Linked DNA regions of Homo sapiens: region 1 is linked to region 2. The links are contacts of gene promoters, found by promoter capture Hi-C in human tissues and cell types (Jung and others, 2019). All regions are on one chromosome and are shown on one strand. Each heading gives the region's core, a stretch centred on a gene start or on the middle of the fragment in contact. The rest is flanking DNA. Distances are from core to core; before and after follow the strand shown. Region 1 overlaps NFATC2 (nuclear factor of activated T cells 2). Region 2 holds the start of KCNG1 (potassium voltage-gated channel modifier subfamily G member 1).

What was found. Contacts are between HindIII fragments. The study calls those that stand out against the background at their distance.
Region 1: a contact is called between a fragment that was not itself captured here and the fragment with the promoter of KCNG1 in region 2, in 2 of the 25 tissues and cell types used here (IMR-90 fibroblasts and lymphoblastoid cells).

The regions. Positions count from the first base shown.
Region 1 is chr20:51,522,913-51,529,904 of GRCh38, reverse strand. It overlaps NFATC2 (nuclear factor of activated T cells 2), which reads left to right. Exons shown (of 11, transcript NM_012340.5): 2 at 5,795-6,824. Among named protein-coding and RNA genes, the nearest start is that of NFATC2, 16 kb to the left of the region's middle. The HindIII fragment of the contact is 7,486 bases long and covers 1-5,529 here.
Region 2 is chr20:51,020,412-51,027,371 of GRCh38, reverse strand. KCNG1 (potassium voltage-gated channel modifier subfamily G member 1) reads left to right here and starts at 4,265. Exons shown (of 3, transcript NM_002237.4): 1 at 4,265-4,502. RefSeq lists a silencer at 4,167-4,336 and an enhancer at 6,061-6,624. The HindIII fragment of the contact is 10,697 bases long and covers 2,131-6,960 here.

The sequences.
Region 1 (6,992 bases), core at 537-3,036, 510 kb before region 2:
GACTCAGAGCCTTTGCCCAGCCACTGTGTCTTGCTTGAATTTAGTAAGTTTTATTTTTATTGTATTTTTACCCTACCTTCTATTTATGGAGGTGACATTGATTTTCCATCTGCAGTAGTGGTGTAAAGTTTCCTTTTAAAATAAAAAAAAAATAAGTGAGTGAATTTAAATACTAGAAGTATTAAGTAAATACTTTTTGGTGGCACATGGATAGAGCAAAGATCGTGCAAGTGGTTAAAAAAAAAGCAAGCTTTTTGGAAATCCTCCTGAGAACATTTGGTGGTTCTGAGATGAAACTAACTTCACCCAGTGCCGTGCGGGCATCGTGATGACTGTAAGAAAGCCGCCTGTGAGCGTGGCAGTTGTTTAAGGAGAAATAGTGACGAATCTCAGCCACTGACTTAGAGAAATATTTTAATGATGTGCTATTTGTGAAATTTACTGTCAAATACCCAGGGGACTGAGAATTAAATGATTATTAATTATCTTCATATTCCCTGCTTGCTGGTAAACATTTAAAGTCTTGTCAAGAGGAAAAAAAAAAAACTGCCGCTTGGATTAATGAAAACCAATGTAAATGCTTTAAATACTTTTGCTCAGCACACTGGAGCTTTCTGTTTTTCAGAGCTCCTAGGGAGTGTGAGTGATGTGTGTTTTCAGGACTGCGTTTCTGTGGACTGTGCACATCAGCCCCAAGGGTGTGTTTCTGATAAGATACAGTGCAGTTCTTCTGATACGGCCGGAATTTTTGCTAAGAAACTTTTTGTGTTTTGTTTTTCTGGTTCGAAGGGCAGTGAATTCTCAGAATGTTGTCGGCCATGGGTTTGACATTCCTCTTTTCCTAGATTAAAACTCTGTGCTCTGTTACCTTCTAGGAAGGCGTGTGTGTGTGTATGTGCGAATTCAAATACACATTTACATTAAACTACAGCCTCACAAGAACTCCAGGCCTTACAGATGCTAGCTAGAAAAATCAAAGGATTTCAGAGCCAGAAGCCACCAAGGAAACTGATTCAGTTTAATGCTGTTCAGTTATAAATGAGAAGGTGTTGAGGCCTCCAGTGGGTGGGGGACTTTTCCAAAGTCACGCTGCTACTTAGTGGCGGAGCAGGACTGCACTCTTCATTTCCTGCTTCGTAAAACAGGGTTTCATTACTGTATATCATGCTATGTCACCTACCACCTATGAAATAAAATTAAAAATGTTTCTTTTGGGAGTTACATTTATTTTCTTACACAATTACACAAATCAAAGGAAGTCTCCTTTCTGCCATGCCACTGTCCTCCCATTCCTTAGTTCCCCTCCCTGGAGGATGTCACTATTACTTGTGACTTCCAGAGAAAGCCTGTGCATCCTTCAGCTGTGCGTGTACATCTGTCTGTGTGTGTACATATGTGTGTGTACATCTGTCTGTGCGTGTACATCTGTACATCTGTGTATATATGTGCAGGTGTAATCTGTATACATCTGTGTGTACATCTGTCTGTGTACATTGTGTGTACATCTCTCTGTGTTTGTGTACATCCTCTCACTTTTTATGCTGTGCACACTATACAGCTTGCTTTTCTCTAATACTAAATCTCAGTGGTCATTCCATGTCAATGCATAAAGAACTTCTTCAGGCCTTTTTGTAGCTATACTGTATCCCATCATATGAATGAGCCAGAATTAATTCATCCCCAATAGATGGGCTTTGGGTTGCTTCCAGTCTTTTGGGATTACAGTCAGGGTTGTAGTAATGAATCTTAAGCATACACAGGTCATTTTGCACAGGTGAGAGTATATCTGCAGGAAGAATTTTTTTTTTTTTTTTTTTTTGGGACAGGTTCTCATCCTGTCACCCAAGCTGGGAGGTGGTGGTACGATCATGGCTCACTACAGCCTTGATCCTCCCACCTCAGCTTCTCCAGTGGCTGGGACTACAGGTAGGTGCCACCATGCCCAGCTAATGAAAAAAAAATTTTTGTTTTAGAGATGGGGTCTCTACGTTGCCCAGGCTGGTCTTAAACTCCTGACCTCAAGCAATCTTCCTACCTCTGTCTCCCAAACGGTTGGGATTCCAGGTGTGAGCCACCATGACTGGCCCAGGATGAATTTCTAAAAGTAGCATTGCTTGGTTCCGAGGGCACATGTGGTTCCGGGGGCACGTGTGTTTGGAATTTTCATGGATATTACAAAATGACCCTCTCTAGAGTTATAGCCTTCTATCTTTTGGTTTGGATATTAGCATCTTTGAGTAATAGTTTATTCCAGGTAGACTTTTCTGAACTTGCCTCATTCATTCAGCCAACACATCCTTTCTGAGGGCCTGTTTAGTGGCAGGACCATTCCAAGTGCTTAGGGGCATGGCGGAGCAAGAGTCCTCATGGCATTTGCTGATTGGTGGGGGTGGATCTCGAGGTCGAGGGAAGGGCAGACTGGAGGTCGAGGGAAACGGAGCACTCCACAGTTCCTCAGTCGTTATGGTGAGATGTGCACAGAACACAGCAGGGGCCTGTGAGTGGGGCCTGAGCTAGTCAAGTGGTCAGGGGTCCTTCTAGAAGCATGCAGTACTTAAGCCCAGCTCATGGGCATGAATGGGCTTTAGTCCTGTGGAGAAGGGGGCCTGGCAGTGGGTAGGGGAGGAGCTGTTGAGGCAGGGGGAGCAGCAAGTACCAAGGTCCCGGGGCAGGAAGGAGCTTGATGCTTTTAAAAACTCCCCTTTGCCAGACACGGTTGTTCTCGTCTGTAATCACAACACTTTGGGAGGCTGAGGTGGGAGGATCACTTGAGCTCAGGAGTTGGAGACTAGCCTGGGCAACATAGTGAGACCTCCTGTCTACTAAAAATAAAAAAAAATTAGCTGAGCCCGGTGGTGTGCACTGGTAGTCCCAGCTACTTGGGAGGCTGAGGTGGGAGGATTGCTTGAGCCTGGGAGGTGGAGGCTGCAGTGAGCTATTATTGCGCCACAGCACTTCAACCTGGGCAGCTGAGTAAGACCTCAAAAACAAAACAAAAATCACCACACTCCCCTTTGGCTGGAGTTCAGAGAGAGGGAGGGGAGAGAGTGAATGCAGGCGAGGGTAGATGCACAGGCAGGGCCCAGCCAGGCTGCCTGGCGGGGGTCATTTATTTTTACCTAAGAGCTGTGGGGAGCCATTTTGGAAGTAGGGGTACCATATGGACCCTAAGAGATCAGCTTGGCTAAACTGGACAGTATTTCCTCTAGGATAGCCCAGAAAGGGAACAAGGAGGCTGAGGCTCACTGGGGTGGCCACCTGGGGTCCCCCAAAGCAGGAAGAGGGCTTGTTTCTGGCTGGCAGGCCCCGGACATGGTTCTTATATTTACTTATTCTCTCAGCCACTCGGCAAATGTTTATGGGGGCTTGCAAGTGCCAGGCCCTGTGGTAGGTGCTTGGCAGACAATGCTGGGCCACAGTGACACGGGCCCAACACTGACGGAGCTCTGGGTCGAGTGTGGGGTTGTAAAATTCTCTAAAGGGCCAAGGAGTAAATATTTCAGGCTTTGGGGGCCATTCGGTTCCCAGACTACCAACTCTGCTGTTGTAGTATAGGAGCAAGCTGTAGCTTGCTTTGTTCACCCTGTGTCAATAAATAGGCTGGCTGTGTTGTCATAAAACTATTTACAAACACAACCCATGGGCCGCATTTGGCCCATGGGCTGTGGTTTGCCTGCACCTGGTTTGGCAGAATGAGATTCCCTAAACAGATACCTGGTGCGACGGGAGCTGTTAGCAGGCGTCAGTGGAGAAAAGATGGCAGGGAAAAGGGAAGGAGGGGATCTTTTTGATGGGTCGATCTCAGGAGGTGCGGGCTGAGCAGATGCAGGAAGGAACCAGGGGAAGTGGGAGGATCTCGCGGGGAGGGTTTCCAGGCAGAGGGAACCCAAGGCGTCTGAGGCAGGAGCTGCTTAAGTACGGCGAAGAGGTTGGAGGGGTTGTTGCTGACTCAGCTTGGGGAGAAGTGGGGAGTGGTGGGGGTGGGTGGCAGGCCGGGGCACATGCTGCGTTAGTGACTTTAGGTTCCATCTAAAGTGTCCAGAAGCCTTTATAGTAGGTTTTGAGAATGGACATTTTAAAGGCTGCTGCGTGACAAACAGACTGACAGAGCCACAGAGGAAGTGGGGAGGCCAGGGAGGAGATGACTGCAGTAGTCCCCATGGGAGAGGACGGCGGCTTGGACCAGGGTGGATGCGATGGAATGGGGAGACCTGGGAATCTAGTTTCTGTTCTGACAGTGGAGCAGTCAGGGCTGATGATGGATCAGATGTGAGGCATCAGAGTAAGGAGTCCAGGCCGCCCCATGAGCTGGCGGGGAGGTTGGAGGAGCCTCTGATGAGGTGGGGGGCCTTGGAGGTGGAGTTGCTGTGAGGGGTGGGTGGGTGGCACTAACTCCGTGGGAATTTCCCAAGCAGCCCCACGTGCCTGGACCTGTACAGGATGCAGTGAGGCAGGGTGTCTGCTAGAAGAGGGTCAGGCTGAGAATTAAATGACAGTGTGAGGTGATGGGTGGCAGTGTCCTTGGGTGGCTGACATAGAACATTCTACTTGAACAGCATTCTGCAGCGGTAGGGCCTTTCGAGGTGGCAGCAGGAGCCCGGGCTAGGCAGCCGCTAAAAGAGGAAGTTAGGTCATTTTGCAGTCATTGGTTTTATCTTTATTTTAGTGTATTTTATTTTATTTTTGAGACAGAGTCTCACTCTATCACCCAGGCCGGCATGCAGTGGCACAGTCTTGGCTCATTGAAACCTCCGCCTCCTGGTTTTAAGCGATTCTTGTGCCTCAGCCTCCTGAGTAGCTGGGATTACAGGCCTGTGCCACCACGCCTGGCTAATTTTTGTATTTTTAGTAGAGATGGGGTTTCACCATGTTGGCCGGGCTGGTCTCAAACTCCTGACCGCAAGTGATCTGCCCGCCTCAGCCTCCCGAAGTGCCGGGATTCCAGGTGTGAGCCACCACGCCCGGCCTGCATCCATTGGGTCTAATAGTTTGGGTGTCAGGTAACCTCTGTAGCAGTGACCCTGCCTGTTGGGGGGCAAGTGGCTTGCCTGTGGTATTTTTAAGCCTGCTAATTCCGTATCTTTCGGTGGGCCTTTTCCCCGCTCTGGGCCTCAGTTTCCTCATTTGTAAAATGACACAGATGAGACATGAGTCAGGAGCCCTGGATCTGAATGAAGCCACTTCTTGTACTTGGTGTGAAATCTGGGATTGAAGCCCAGGGCACTGTGGGCTGCAGAGTCTGCGCAGCCTCCCTCTGTGTCCTGCGTCCACGTCATGTGTGTAGAGTGCTGCCATAGGCCCTAGATAGGTGCTTTTCAAACTAGGGGTCATGACCTACCGCGCAGACGGGTTAGGGGATCCGTCTAATGGGTCGTGACCAGCGTTGAAGCAAAATCACTCAGGCAGGAGGGAGGGTCTGAGGGTGTCATGTAGCAGGGGTAAGTATTGACTCGAGAGGCTTTTGTTTCAGTTGTGGGTGTATATGGTGGCGTGAATGGGGTTGTGAGATAAAGTGCACTTCTCCGAAGGGTTTCATTTAAAGCCAAGTTTCGAGGCCCTTAGCCCAGGGGTCTTCCAGAACTCATTCTGCTTCGACCTGTCTTCTCCAGGGACCTGGGACAAAGTGGCCTCAGTTTTCTTCTGGTGAGGGACGGAGCTTCTAGCTTGGGGTTTGGCATGGTGGGAATTTGAAAAAAATAAACGACGTGAGACGAAATCCAGCCTGTGATTGCTCTGCACCGGGAGTTCTGTTTTTGAGGCTTAAAAAGAACCCCCTTCCCCCTTCTCTTTCCAGAAGAGCCGAATGCACATAAGGTCGCCAGCCCACCCTCCGGACCCGCATACCCCGATGATGTCCTGGACTATGGCCTCAAGCCATACAGCCCCCTTGCTAGTCTCTCTGGCGAGCCCCCCGGCCGATTCGGAGAGCCGGATAGGGTAGGGCCGCAGAAGTTTCTGAGCGCGGCCAAGCCAGCAGGGGCCTCGGGCCTGAGCCCTCGGATCGAGATCACTCCGTCCCACGAACTGATCCAGGCAGTGGGGCCCCTCCGCATGAGAGACGCGGGCCTCCTGGTGGAGCAGCCGCCCCTGGCCGGGGTGGCCGCCAGCCCGAGGTTCACCCTGCCCGTGCCCGGCTTCGAGGGCTACCGCGAGCCGCTTTGCTTGAGCCCCGCTAGCAGCGGCTCCTCTGCCAGCTTCATTTCTGACACCTTCTCCCCCTACACCTCGCCCTGCGTCTCGCCCAATAACGGCGGGCCCGACGACCTGTGTCCGCAGTTTCAAAACATCCCTGCTCATTATTCCCCCAGAACCTCGCCAATAATGTCACCTCGAACCAGCCTCGCCGAGGACAGCTGCCTGGGCCGCCACTCGCCCGTGCCCCGTCCGGCCTCCCGCTCCTCATCGCCTGGTGCCAAGCGGAGGCATTCGTGCGCCGAGGCCTTGGTTGCCCTGCCGCCCGGAGCCTCACCCCAGCGCTCCCGGAGCCCCTCGCCGCAGCCCTCATCTCACGTGGCACCCCAGGACCACGGCTCCCCGGCTGGGTACCCCCCTGTGGCTGGCTCTGCCGTGATCATGGATGCCCTGAACAGCCTCGCCACGGACTCGCCTTGTGGGATCCCCCCCAAGATGTGGAAGACCAGCCCTGACCCCTCGCCGGTGTCTGCCGCCCCATCCAAGGCCGGCCTGCCTCGCCACATCTACCCGGCCGTGGAGTTCCTGGGGCCCTGCGAGCAGGGCGAGAGGAGAAACTCGGCTCCAGAATCCATCCTGCTGGTTCCGCCCACTTGGCCCAAGCCGCTGGTGCCTGCCATTCCCATCTGCAGGTGAGCAGGGCTTTGAAAATGATTGATTCTGTGGTTTAGTTTTAAGAGATGGTTTTCTGGTTATGAGCATGGGATTCAGAGTCAGGTTTAAGACTGACTTTAAATGGATTTAAATCTTGGCTTGGCCCCTTGCTGGTTGCGAGACCCTGAGACGGAAGTTAAATTCCC
Region 2 (6,960 bases), core at 3,016-5,515:
CTCTCAACAGATTCCTCCCAACTCCAACCAAATCCAAGCCTTTTCATCTCAAGGAGGAGATGGGTTAAAAAAAAATGGACAGCTCTGGATAACTTTTCCTGCCCTGGAAAAACAGCCCAGAACTTTATGGCTTACTGACAGCTGGTTATGGATGGGAAGGAAGGCATATTCTTAAACTGCTGACAGTAACTCCCTTTTAAGGTATTTCCTCAGGGCCAGCAATGTCACATTCTCCTCCTGCCCGAAAAATTAACAGCAGTTTTTATTTCAGTGACAAGCTTGGGCTTTTGGGTTAGGCAGGCCTGGGTTCGGATCTGGCTCTGCCATTTACCGCGCAACCCTAGACAATCTGCCAACATGAAAAGTCACCAACTCTTGCTTCCAGGGGCCTGGCAGTAACCGAGATGGTATGATGTGGGTAGAGGGGCACACCGCAGGGAGCAGAAGCCACTGCCCAGCGCCAGCATGCTGTGTGGGTAAAGGATGTTGGCCAGATCTCCCAGTGTTTCAAAAGAAAAAATTTTACATGAAATCTCCCAGTTTTTAAAGGTCAGCAACTAATTTTAAATTAATTTTTAAAAATTTTAACTCAGTAGGGACAAATAAAACAGGTCTGCGTGCCAGAGTCCACCTCCGGGCCCAGTTGTGGCTCTGATGTCTTCAAATCACCCAGCAACCACCTGGCACCTCGTAGCTGCCCAGCAAGCACTGACGGTTCCCATTTTCTCAGGAAGCTTCCATGGGTATCATCAACATCTCTTTCCACACAACAGCTTGGGGAAGGATGCTTTTCAAGAGGAAAATGAAGATATGAGGAGAAGAGTGAAAAATCTGGAAGGCTCTAAGGGAGGGAGGAACTGCAAAGAGGGAATTCCTTAAAAGGACTTAAAAGGATTTTATTGGACATTGTTTAGCACAGTCAGGGATAAGATCAGGCAGTAATTTAACTCCTGGGTACAGCAAGTGAGTGTGTATGTTGCGGGTAGGCAGGACCGGGTGGAAGTCATTGTTCTCACTGACGGTCTCCACACAGTGTACCAGGTCTTCTGTCTGCAGGTCACTATGAAATTTGACTCAGGTGCATAGTGTTCTAATAAGCCCAGCCCCATCTCTAGAGGTGGCCATTAGTTCCTATGGATCCTACATAAGAAGAAGCTGGCTTGAGTTTGTCCCGGGACCTCATGAGGGCTCCGAAGTCAGACCCAGCTGGGTAGGCGTTCAAGTCTTCAATATCAGTGGTTCTCAAAGTGGGATCCCCAGACCTGATGCATGAGCATCAGCAGGGAACTCCTCAGAAGGACCCTACGCCAGACCCACTGAATCAGCCACTCCAGGGTGGGGGCCAGCCGTCTGGGTTTTAATAAGCCCTCAGGGGGATTCAGATGCACAGTAAAGTCTGAGAGGCCCTGCTCTGCATCCTTACCCTGTGAGCATCAGTGAGGAGTCTGACTCTCTGACGCAGTCACATCTATTCCAGAAAACTGTCCTGAATTCCCCCAGGAATCATTTCCAGGAATCATTTAAGAAGCCTGCTCTGTATGTGCCTAGCAGAGTGGGAGCTGCTGGAGAGGGGAGAGACAGCACACAGTCCTTGCCCTGATGGAGCTTGGTCCCCAGTGGGGACACAGATAATACGCAAGTAAAAAAGATAGAAACATGGCCAGGTGCAGCGGCTCACATCTGTAATCCCAGCACTTTGGGAGGCCAAGGTGGGTGGATGTCTTAAGCCTAGGAGTTCCAGACCCGCCTGTCTCTGCAAAAAATATATTTTGTTTTAAATTAGTGGTGCATGGTGGTGTGTGGTAGTCCCAGCTACTCAGAAGTCTGAGGCAGGAGGATCCCTAGAGCCCAGGAGTTAGAGGTTACAGTGAGCTATGATTGCACCACTGCACTCCAGCGGGTGACAGAGTCAGACCCTGTCTCAAAAACAAGATAGAGAGCAATTTTCTGGCTGGGTGCAGTGGCTCACGCCTGTAATTCCAGCATTTTGGGAGGCTGAGGCTGGCGGATCACTTGAGGTTGCGAGTTCAAAACTAGCCTGGCTAACATGGTGAGACTCCGTCTCTACTAAAAATACAAAAATTAGCTGGGCATGGTGGCACACACCTGTAGTCCCAGCTACTCAGGAGGCTGAGGCAGGAGAATCGCTTGAACCCAGGGGGATGGAAGTTGCAGTGAGCTGAGATCACACCACTGCACTCCAGCCTGGGAGACACAGAGAGACTATGTCTCAAAAAAAAAAAAAAAAAAAAAAATTTCAGATGGGAAAGGAAGGCAGAAGCCTGATCCACCACAAGAGGAGTGTTTCTCAATATGTAATCCAGGGACCCTCTGACAACAAAAGCCCACCCCACCCCACTCAGGCCCCTCCCCCACACTGCTGGTTGGTCTCTTTGATGTTTCTCAGACATGCCTCCTTCTCTCCTGCTTGAAGGCCAGTGCCTTTGATGTTCTGTCCACCTAGAAAGCTCTCTTCCCATCTTGCCAGATGGGCTCCTTCTGGCTCAGGGCTCCATGTAACCATCACCTCCACAGGAGCCCTCCCCCATTATTCTATCTAAAGTGGCCTCTCTGGCTTCATTCTGCAATCACGTATTTCAGCAGTTTCCCAATTCTGCCAAGCCCCCAGTAGAAGGTGAGCTCTTGGAAACAGGTCCTTAGGCAGATCCTTGTCTGTCCAGGCCTCCACCTCACCAGTAAGCCAGTGTTTTTATTCTTGTTGTTTTAGAGGCTGGATCTCGCTCAGTCACGCAGGCTGGATTGCAGTGGTGCCATCATAGTGCACTATAACCTGGAACTCCTATGCTCCACCCGGCTGGGACTGCCGCGCAGGCTAGTGTGCCCTGCGCTCATTTCTTAGGGTTAACCCTAACCCACTTAATGAGCACCCACGACTCCCCAACCCGAGCCCCACTCAAGCAGAAGGCCTCAGGCTGGTCGGCAGCAGGGTTTCTTCATGTCCTTTCTTGGTTCTCTGATGATAGGCAAAGGCAGTAGAGACAGAAAGGAAAAGAGGAACGGAGTGCAAGAGACAGAAAGGAGAAGAGGAACGGAGTGCAAGAGACAGAAAGGAGAAGAGGAACGGAGTGCAAGGCAAGCCACCCTAAGAGGCCAGCCCTGCCAGCAGCACAGATCCCTCCAAACCAATAGGTCCCTCCAACTCAGTAGATTCCTCCAACCCAATAGATCCCTCCAACCCAACCTCCAGCATCTGTGCAGCATCCTACCAACTCCGAGGCTAGGCGGCCACACTGGGAGCAAGACCCCAGGACCTGGTCCAAGTGCCCTGCACCGGCCAGGGGAGTGGACGACGAAGTGCGGCTCTGCTAGCCCGGGAGGGCTCTGGGGCCTCGGCCCCGCGGGACTGGAAGGGAAAACACCTGGCACGGTACGTACTGGCCCTAGGAATTTGGCACAGCAAGATGCTGGCAGTCCCTGGGTGGCGGTGGCAGGAAGGGCCCAAGGGCAACATTGGTCTAGGAGGTCGAGAAAAGGCGCGCGATATATGGCCCCCAGGATGTGGAAGCTTGCTTGGAGCGTTCGGCTCCAGGGCAGCAGCGCGTGGAGGGCCTCAAGGATGCAGTATTTGCCCGGGGTAGGGGGGCGAGGGACCCAGAGGCAGCAGTGCACTTGGACTTCCAGGACTTCCAGGGAAAGGCAGGAGACATGGCGCATGTGGTTCCCAGGATGTGTAAGCGCGTGGAGCGCGGCCCCGGGGCAGCGGAGAGTGGGGTTTTAATATCTAGCACATGTAGACCCTGGGGCGGTGCTGCTAGGGGCGCGGACCCGGGACCACCGGAGCACTTGCACCGCGGGGAAAGCTGACAGGGCGCGCGACCCTAGGAGGCTGCCGCGCCGCCTGGTGCGTGAAGCTCCAGGGCAGCGGAGCGCGGGGACCTTGAAGGCTGTCGCGTGCAGGCGAAGGGGCCGCAGGGTGGTCGCTCCTGGGAGAGCAGACGGGGAAGAAGGCAACGGGAGGGAGGGCGTAGCGCGAGCAGTCCCGGACGCGGGCTCAGGAACTGGCCGCGAGGAGCGCAATCCAGCAGGCGCGCCAGGGCCCCCGGATCCAAGGTGCGGGGTCCCGATTGGGCGCCTGGACGCCCCGTGACGGTGGCGCCGCTGCCACTGTCCCGAAGCGAGGCGAGGCCAGGCGCTGCGCTTTCGGCTGCCCGCCCCTTCTCCCCGCCCCGCGCTCAGTCCCCTCCCTCCGTCCCGCCTCCTGCCTCGCTCCCTCCCTCGGCGGCTGCTGCGCCGCGCTCCCGGCGCACTCGGAGCCCGGCGGGGACCGGGAGGCAGAGACGGGGCGGCCGTGGCTCCGAGGGCGGGAGCTGAGCCGGGCCCCGGGACCGAAGTTTGGCGGCGGCTCCGGGAGGCAGAGCGGGCTCCCCGGGCGACTTCCAGGCCCCTCTCGCGTCCTCGCCCCGGACCCGTGGGCAGCCGGGGGGAACGGAAGCCGCGGCCGGGCCAACTCCGAGGCGGGGACGCCGCGACGGGAACTTGAGGTGGGAACTTTGCGCGCTGCAGCCTCGCCGGGCGCCACCGAAGCGCGAACCGGACCCCGAGCCTGCAAACTCGGGCTCGGGGGCGGCTGCACGTGGCCGTGGCCCTGAACTCCCTGCGGGGGCCTCGAAACCCGCCTGCGGGGAGGCCAGGGCGACAGAGGACTCGGGAGTCACCGCTGGTGCGTGGCGGCGTGGAGCGCGCTTGTTACGGCCAAGGTGCGGGTCCGGCTTCGGTTCATCCCAAGGGGTCACCGGGATGCGAAGTCCGGGACGTTCGCCGCCGCGGTGACCCCGGCGGGGGCGCATCCCGGCTGTGGGCCGAGGTTTCTCCCCCGATCCTGGGAGGAAGGAGAGTTAGGGATTGGGGTGGGGGAGTGTGTGTCACTTGCTCATTCACTGTATCCTTAGGCACAGTATGGAGCCCCCCTTCACCCCCACCGTGGGCCTGATTGAGTCATTCATTATGAACACAGCAAGCGTTTATTGAGCGCCTACTGTGTGCTAGGCACTGGGGATACTGAGACAGTTCACTGGGCACCCCCAGGAACTGGTAGGAAGGTGGTGGTCTCAGCCTTAGGGTTTCCATGTGGGAGAGAGGCTCAGCCCGGAGGTATGGAAGGAAAAGGGTGAAGTTCATTCATTCATTCATAGATTGGACAAAGATTGGTTGAGCACCTATTGTAAGCAGCTCATCATACCAAGCGCTCAACAGTCATTCATCCAGTTCACAAACATTTATGGAGGCGCTATGCTGGGGAGAAGTGAAGAGGGATGGAATGGGGGCACCCTTCATGCAGCTTAGAGAGAAGTAAGGATTAAGACCCAGGCCCCCGCTTGGGAGGCCGCAGACTGCCGGGGTGGCCAACTGTAGCAGCCCATGTATATAGGCAGAAGTCTTGGTTCATCTAATGCATTCCTTCTCAAGGTGGGAGGTGTGGAAGCTGGAATTGGTTCTAGAATAGGAAGAAAAGATCTTTTCAAAGCTCCTTAGGGGCGGGTGATGGGGTAGGGTGGGGAGGAGTTGAGAAACACTGATCCGACATTACTGAGGAATGCAGGTTCCCACCAATGGGGTTTATGAGTTAGGTTGTCCATTCAGCAGGCATTTTCTTAAGCACTCGCTGTTATTAAGCACTTAAAGGGTGCCAGGCACCAAAGTTACCCAGGTAAATGACAGACACATAGAAGAGGGAGACAGACACAGACGCCCCCACCCCCTTTGCTGACTCCCTGAGATAAGTACAGGGGGAAGTAAGAGGAGGGAGCAGGAACTGGTCTGATTCATTGTGGGGTGGGGGAAGTTCCTGCCCTATGAATCTGAGCAGAGGTTTATTCATTAGTGTGTGTTTGATACCCCCATACCCATGATGGCAGAGTCCCTATGAAGAGCCTCACCGGCAGCACATCTCCAAGAAAAGTTTGGCACTGCTGATTGGGGCCTTGCGGTCGGCACTGTGGCTAGGGCATGCTGTCCTTCTTTGGGGGATTTTTCAGGCTCTGCCAGACCTGAGCTCTATTTGTGCCTCCCCCGGCTTTTGGAGCCCTGCAGAGTCGCCTGATAGGAGGGGAAGGAGGGAAGGTGTGTTTGAAAAACAGGCAAGCGCTGGCCCCTGGGGATCACCCTCCTCAGTCATTCTCGAAGCCAGCCCGTTCCACGGGAAAGATGTCTGTCCTGGGACACACTCCTAACCTGCAGGGAACTGCAAGCACACTGGAAACGAGGCAACCTAGGTTCTTCTCCTGAGACTTGAGAGCCCAGGCCCGCAGCCTACAGCCTGGGTTGTCAAACCTTGGGAGTAAAAAAATCAACCAAACCCCTAGTTTTGCCAAACTCTGGGTTGCCTTTTTGGCCTCTGGGAGGGAGATGTGACATGGGAGGCAGAGGTTACTTGCTTCTCCCCATCCCCAAAGACTTTCCCGAAGCTTGTCCTGGAGCCTGATTGGGGCAGATCTGAGCACCACTTTGAATTCTCTGCACCAGACCCACAGCTGGGCTCTGGCAAGAGGTGAGGGAGGTGCCTCAGGAAACAGAAGAACAAAGAGATGTGTGCTGGATGCAGGGCTAAGCGACGCAAACCAGCTCCGAGGAACTCACCTCCTGGAGCCGCAGTAGGTACCTTGGCTCGGCTGTCCTTTCTCCACCCTGCTTTCCAATGTTGATGAAGAGTCAACATTGCCTGTTGCCAGAGGTCTAGGGGTACAGGAATCTACCCTTGGTTGTTGCATTAAGCCCAGAAATGGAGCCTGTGGGTGAAAAATGGCAGCTGGTAAAGCCCCTCTAAATAGAATTAATAAAAAGGGAGAGGCGAAGAACCTAGCTGAAGCACTCCATTGCTGTGGACCATTTTTATCATCCAGCAGACTGTATTTGATTAACGAAATCAGAAATGAAGTGACTTTGCTACAAATAGGATCTGAATTGTGCCTAAGACTGTCCGTTGCCCTGAGGTGAGTCTTC